Linked DNA regions of Homo sapiens: region 2 is linked to region 1. Evidence: promoter capture Hi-C in 16 types of primary human blood cells and fetal thymus (Javierre and others, 2016). All regions are on one chromosome and are shown on one strand. Each heading gives the region's core, a stretch centred on a gene start or on the middle of the fragment in contact. The rest is flanking DNA. Distances are from core to core; before and after follow the strand shown. Region 1 holds the start of PPP6C (protein phosphatase 6 catalytic subunit). Region 2 overlaps GAPVD1 (GTPase activating protein and VPS9 domains 1).

The links. The method cuts DNA at HindIII sites, captures the fragments that hold promoters and counts their contacts. A CHiCAGO score of 5 or more calls a contact.
Region 2: a contact is called between a fragment that was not itself captured here and the fragment with the promoter of PPP6C in region 1, in 5 of 17 cell types (naive CD4 T cells, fetal thymus, naive CD8 T cells and 2 more). The highest score is 6.2, in naive CD4 T cells.

Annotation. Positions count from the first base shown.
Region 1 is chr9:125,188,431-125,191,707 of GRCh38, forward strand. PPP6C (protein phosphatase 6 catalytic subunit) reads right to left here and starts at 1,373. Exons shown (of 7, transcript NM_002721.5): 1 at 1,214-1,373. The coding sequence starts at 1,288. RefSeq lists enhancers at 695-1,481, 1,482-2,268, 1,571-1,650. The HindIII fragment of the contact is 2,825 bases long and covers 1-2,023 here.
Region 2 is chr9:125,263,263-125,266,914 of GRCh38, forward strand. The region is part of intron 1 of GAPVD1 (GTPase activating protein and VPS9 domains 1); the gene reads left to right. It also overlaps the pseudogene RPS10P17. Among named protein-coding and RNA genes, the nearest start is that of GAPVD1, 3.3 kb to the left of the region's middle. The HindIII fragment of the contact is 5,449 bases long and covers 1-3,652 here.

The DNA of each region.
Region 1 (3,277 bases), core at 123-2,622:
TAAGCACTGCTAGAAACCTAAGCTCTGATTTCAGCAAATGCATAGAAACACTTTTCAAAGAAGCAGTATACCTAGGCCGGCGCGGTGGCTCACGCCTGTAATACCAGCACTTTGGTAGGCCGAAGCGGGCGGATCACTTGAGGTCAGGAGTTCAAGACCAGCCTGGCCAACATGGCGAAACCCCGTCTCTACTAAAAATACAAAACAGCCGGGCGTCGTGACGGGCGCCTGTAATTCCACCTAGTCGGGAGGCTGAGGCAGGAGAATCGCTTGAACCCGGGAAGTGGAGGTTGCAGTGAGCCAAGATCGCACCGCTGCACTCCAGCCTGGGTGACAGAGTGAGACTCTATCTCAGTTAAAAACAATAATAATAATAATAATAATAATAATTAAAAAGTTTTAAAAAAGAAAAGCAGTATACCAAAGTCATTCCTTTACCCATACATACATTTACTCTTACTTGGACTCAGGAGTAACAAGGAACTCACCTCCTTTAGAAAACGAAGAAAATGAAATACTGAGTTAAGAAGGGGTTAAGGAGAAAGTATTTGTATTTATTGAGAACCAACTACTTTATCCACTTCAGTAAGCTCAACAACATACTCAGAAACGGGATTCACCTCTGAATTAGCAAAACCGACGATCCTAAAAAGCAATTTGGAGGAGTGGCAATGAAGAGGGACGACCTGACGTTCGCTCCCGCCAGTACCAAACCACTCGGGCCCACCGCCTTCCCCTTCCTCAGAGACCTAAACACACTGAGGCCGCGTTCCGGTAGCCGGTGGCATCTCCTGTCAGACGCCGGCCACTCCGCGCTCCTGTCACCTCCGGTGGAGGCGACCCCATCCCGAGGGCACTGCCGCGGGGGCTCGGCTCCGACTGCGGGAGACCCAGGGATGGGGTGGGGAGCCGAGCCTTCTAAATAAAGCTGTTACAGCTGCGGGTCCTGGGGCAGCCCGAAGGCCAGAAGGGGCGACCCTGGGACAGAGGCCGCGACATCCCTCGGGATCCCCACTGAGGCAACCGGGACAGCATTCGACGACTCGGCTCGCGAGACCCTCGGCGTGACGCCGGGTAGGACCGGGTCGACTGGCAATGGGGGAGGCCCTCCACCGCGACTGGACTGGATACCCGGCGGGGGTCCTGGAGAAAGGAAGGGCCGGCCGGCGGGCGCCCCACAGCCGGAAGGGGCGAGCCCGCAAATAGGGCTCACCTTCAGGTCGTTCTCTGGCAGGTACTTGCACAGCCGCGCTATTTCCACATACTTGTCCAGGTCTAGCGGCGCCATTTTAAGAATAACAAGCCGCGGCAACAGCGGCGGCGGCGGCTGTAGCAGCGGCGGCGGCAGCGGCGGAGGCCGAAGCCGGAACTTTCCCTGCGTCACGTCCGGCCCGTGAGTGGCGCCTGCGCAGCGCCGTTAAAGCGCGACCCGTTTCTCCCCGCTACGTCGGTACGCCCGGCGCCCCCTCTGGCTGAACCCCGACTGCAGGCCCCAAGAGAGCCCGCTTCGGTCCACCCCGCGAAACCTGCTGGGACCCGTAGTCGTCTGCCGCGGGGGTGCTGGGATGTGTAGTTTTCTGTTGTGGACAGCCACCCCTCTCTTTTCCTCCCGTTCCTCCAGACTTTCACCTCCCGGCAGCCGGCGAGGCTTTTCCGAGGCAAAACAGCGGAGTAGGTGGTCCTAGCCACTCACTGGTTTGTTTTTCCAACCCTTTTAAGCACTCTCCAGAATATCTTCACTTAACAATTGGGTAAGCCTGGCCGTAGTAACCGTTTGCACCTTTCCAAGTCCCTGTGAAAACCTCGCCTAAGCCTGTGGCAGAGATGTCAGGCCCCAGTCTTCCAGCCTGAAAGGAAGGGAAACGAATATTATTAAAGCATTTCTGATGCTAAATGCGATACAAATGATATTTTTCCTTTTAATCTTCGTAACGATTGATAGGAAAGTGAGGCTAGGAAACTGCAGTTCACCCCAAATCTCACAGGGAACAAAATGGTGGGGTCAAGATTGAAAAATGGCTTAAGCTTAAGCATGCTTCCAGTGAGAATCCCACGAGGGCAGGGAGTTTTTTGCTGTAACTCCAGCACCGAGAACAGTACCTGGTACTAGCATACCTTCAGCGTTCGTTTATCCAACCACTCTTTGCTGAGCAACAAAGATGTGCCAGGTACAGCTCAAGGCGCTTGCAGTACTTCGTGAACAAAATAGACAAAGATCTCTATTCTATCTGTAGCTACAAAAAGTACCAAAATTAGCCTGGCGCGGTAGTGCGTGCTTGTGGTCCCAGCTACTCTGGAGGCTGAGGCAGGAGAACCGCTTGAGTTGGGAGGCGGAGGTTGCAGTGAGCTGAGATCGCGGCACTGCACTCCAGCTTGGGCGACAGAGCGAGATCCTCCTCAAAAATAAATTAGTAAAAGGAGCTGCTGTATGGGACTAGGGGTGGGGGTGCAATGCCTATAGCTAAGAGACCAGTTAAGAGACTGTTATGTAATCCAATAGTAGCAGGCGCTCAATAAATATTTGTTGCTCAAGAGACCCTGGAATTAATCCTCTTGCTCTCTAAAGTATATTTTGTGGACAATTGGCTAACCCTGAATGAGATATCTGGGTGAACTTCTTTGTATTATTCTTGTAACTCCTCTGAAAGTATGAAATTGTTTCAAAGTAAAATTAATTTTTAGAAGTTTGTTGCAGAATGAATGATGCCCACAAGCATTCATTTCTTCATTCATTAAACTAATAGTTACATAGTGCCTATTGGCCAGGCCGCGGTGGCTAATGCCTGTAATCTCAGCACTTTGGGAGGCCAAGGCAGGCAGATCACCTGACGTCAGGAGTTCAAGACCAGCCTGGCCAACATGCCGAAACCCCATCTCTACTAAAAATACAAAATACTGGGGAGGCTGAGGCAGGAGGATCACTTGAATTGCTTGAGGCAGAGGTTGCAGTGAGCTGAGATGGCGCCACTGTACTCCAGCCTGGGCCACAGAGTGAAACTCCATCTCAAAGAGAAAAGAAACCAGAGGTTACACAGTGCTTATGATGTGAATAAAACAGATATGATCCCTGCCCTAATCAGGCTTACAATCTGCTGGGAAGAGACAAACAGTATTTATTTATTTATTTACATTTACTGGTTTATTATTAATATAAAGGATATTACAAAGGATACAAATGAAGAGATGCATAGGGTGAGGTAATTAAAATTTTTGTTTTTGTTGAGGCCGGGTGCAGTGGCTCAAACTTGTAATCCCAGTAGTGAAGCCAAGGTGAGCA
Region 2 (3,652 bases), core at 580-3,079, 75 kb after region 1:
ACATGGTGAAACCCCATCTCTACTAAAAATACAAAAATTAGTTGGGTGTGGTGGCCCATGCCTGTAATCCCAGCTACTTGGGAGGCTGAGGCAAGAGAATCACTTGAGCCCGGGAGGTGGATATTGCAGTGAGCCAAGATCACGCCACTGCACTCCAGCCTGGCAACAGAGCGAGACTCCGTCTCAAAAAACAAAACAAAACAAAAAAACTCCTGAAATAGAAATAAGGTTTTTTGGATTTATAAGTCTACTTAGAAGAACTGTTGTTTTTTTTTTTTTGGTTGTAAGTTTATTCAATGCAAAAGAATCCTCTCCAATTTTACTGAGGTGGCTGACCACGTCCACGACCAAATCCGTCTCAACTGGAATTTGGCTGCTGACCCAGCCCCAGCCTCAGCTTTCTTGTCGGCACTAAGTGGCACAGCACTCCATCTGTAGGTATGTCTGTCAGCACTCCATCTGTAGGTATGTCTGTCAGCTTCCCCTCTTGTGAGTCTCGCAGGTCACTCACCCTCCAGACCTTTAGGCTGAGGCCTGCCGGTCTCTGGACAGCTATGGCGTAGGGTAGCAGGTACAGTCTCCGGGGGGCAGATGAAGGTAATCCCGGAGATACTGGATACCCTCATTGGTAAGGTACCAGTAGAAATGTCTCCAGGCAAACTGTTCCTTCATGTAGCCTTGAGACTTGAGAGACTGCATGGCCTTCATGACATGAAGGTTGGGCACGTTCTTGTCTGCCAGCTCTGGGTGCTTAGGCATGTGGACATCCTTCTTGGCCACCATGACTCCCTCCTTAAAAAGGAGTTCATAAATGGCAATCTGGTTCTTTAGAAGAACATTTGAATCATTGAAGGCAGACAGGATGACAGTGTAGACGAAAGAGAATTTCATAATCAGGGAGATAAAAAATTTGGATGGGATCAGGGTAGTCTTTTGTTTTGTTTTGTTTTGAGACGGAGTCTGGCTCTGTTGCCTAGGCTGGAGTGCAGTGGCATGATCTCCGCTCACTGCGACCTCAGCTTCCTGGGTTCAAGCGATTCTTGTGCCTCAGCTTCCTGAGTAGCTGGGACTACAGACACCAGCCACCACGCCTGGATAATTTTTATATTTTTAGTAGAGGCAAGGTTTCACCATGTTGGTCAGGCTGGTCTCAAAGTCCTGACCTCAGGTGATCTGCCTGCCTCGGACTCCCAAAGTGCTGGGATTACTGATGTGAGCCACCGCGTCCTGCCCAGAGTAGTCATTTTGAAAGAATAGACCATAGATATTTCATTCAGGGTAATGGGGAATGAACAAAATAATCGGAAGAAGAAAGAAAAGTGAATATGTTGGCCTTTAAATTTTTGTATTAAGGCACCTCCCCACTTCCAAGGGATTGCAGCTCTGTAAGCTCTAATGTAAGCCTGAGAAAAGAAATTTTACTGTTTGCTGGTTTTCTTTAAATCATGGAGGTGGATTTTTTTTTTTTTTTTCTGAGATGGAGTCTCAGGCTGTCGCCCAGGCTGGAGTGCAGTGGCGCGATCTCAGCTCACTGCAAGCTCTGCCTACCGGGTTCATGCCATTCTCCTGCCTCAGCCTCCCAGGTAGCTGGGACTACAGGTGCTGCCACCATGCCTGGCTAATTTTTGTATTTTTAGTAGAAACGGGGTTTCACCATGTTGGTCAGGCTGGCCTCGAACCTCCTGACCTTAAGTGATCTGCCCGCCTTGGCCCCCCAGAGTGCTAGGATTATTGGCGTGAGCCACCGCGCCTGGCCATCTTACATTTTTTAAAAGACAAAAAATTATTTCCCAGCACTATGTTGTGCTTTTGTGAGCATTTGGTTTCATATGGGGACTAATCATTCTTAGTACATGCTGCCATATAGGTTTGATTATTCATCATTTTGTATGAGGTAATAAAAGGGAAAGTCTGTAAGTGAAGTTCTTGTTTTGCTGAGGTTCTTTTACCTTTTACTGTGTGATCCTAGGTTGTTTTATTTCTCTTCATTCTTCTTCCTTCTTTCTTCTTCCTTCTTTTTTTTTGAAACAAGGTCTTGCTGCATTGCCCAGGCTGGACTTGAACTCCTGGACTTGAGTGATCCTCCTGCCTCAGCCTTACCAAGTAGCTAGGACTATAGGTCGGCACCACCACACCTGGCATTGTTTCTTTTTCTGTTCTTCTTTCTGAGAGGGAGTCTTACTTGTCTCCCAGGCTGGAGTGCAGTGGTGTAATCTTGGCTCACTGAAACCTCTGCCTCCCGGGTTCCAGCGATTCTCCTGCCTCAGTCTCCCTCCTGGGCTGGGACTACAGGCGGGTGCCACGATGGCTGGCTAATTTTTGTATTTTTTTGTAGAGACGGGGTTTCACCATATTGGCCAGGCTGGTCTTGAACTCCTGACCTCGTGATCTGCCCACCTCGGCCTCCCATAGTGCTGGGATTACAAGTGTGAGCCACCGCGCCCGGCCAAAAAAAAAATTTCATGTCTGACGATATCAAATGTTGGTGAAGATGTGGCAAAAATGGTAATTTTGAAACTACTGGCCAGGCGTGGTAGCTCATGCCTATAATTTTAGCACTTTTGGAGTTTGAGGGCCACTTGAGTCCTTGAACCCGGGAGTTCAAGACCAGCCTGGGCCTCAAAGTGAGACCCCTGTCTCTATTAAAAAAGAAAAAATTTATAAAAAAAAAAAAAAAAAGAAACTGCTACCGGTTACTGTTAGGAGGAGGAAAAAAAAACTGTTGGTTGAGTGTAAACTGGTATAGCTGCTTTTGAAGACAGTATTTGCAGCCCTTAGTAAAGTTGAAGATAGGCGTACTCTATAATTTCACGTCTATAAGGGATTATGAATGGGAGGTAGTGGCAAAGGGGATGATATCTATAATTTTTTTTTTTTTTTTGAGGTGGAGTTTTGCTCTTGTTGCCCAGGCTGGAGTGCAAATGCGCGATCTCGGCTCACTGCAATCTCCGTCTCCCGGGTTCCAGCATTTCTCCTGCCTCAGCTTCCCGAGCAGCTGGGATTATAGGCATGCACCACTATGCCCGGCTAATTTTTATTTTATTTTATTTTATTTTATTTTTTTTTTTTTAGACGGAGTCTCGCTCTGTCGCCCAGGCTGGAGTGCAGTGGCGTGATCTTGGCTCACTGCAAGCTCTGCCTCCCGAGTTCACGCCATTCTCCTGCCTCAGCCTCCCAAGTAGCTGGGACTACAGGCGCCCGCCACCATGCCCAGCTAATTTTTTGTATTTTCAGTAGAGACGGGGTTTCACCATGTTATCCAGGATGGTCTTGATCTCCTGACCTTGTGATCCACCTGCCTCGGCCTCCCAAAGTGCTGGGATTACAGGCGTGAGCCACCGCGCGCAGCCCGTTATCTATAATTTCTTTTGAGGATATCTATACTTTTTTTTTGAGACTAGACACTACTGTGACAACAGCTAATTCTGGGAGGCAGAATATACGTGCTAAATTATTATTTGTATCTTTCCCTATTTTCTGCTGTTCGTTTTGTTTTTTTCTTTTTGTTTGTTTTTTGAGACAGAGTCTTGCTCTGTGGTCCAGGCTGGAGTGCAGTGGCGCCATCTCAAGTCACTGCAACTTCCCCCTCCTGGGTTCAAGAGATTCTCCTGCCTCAGCCTCCTGAGTAACTGGTACTATGGGCACGTGCCAC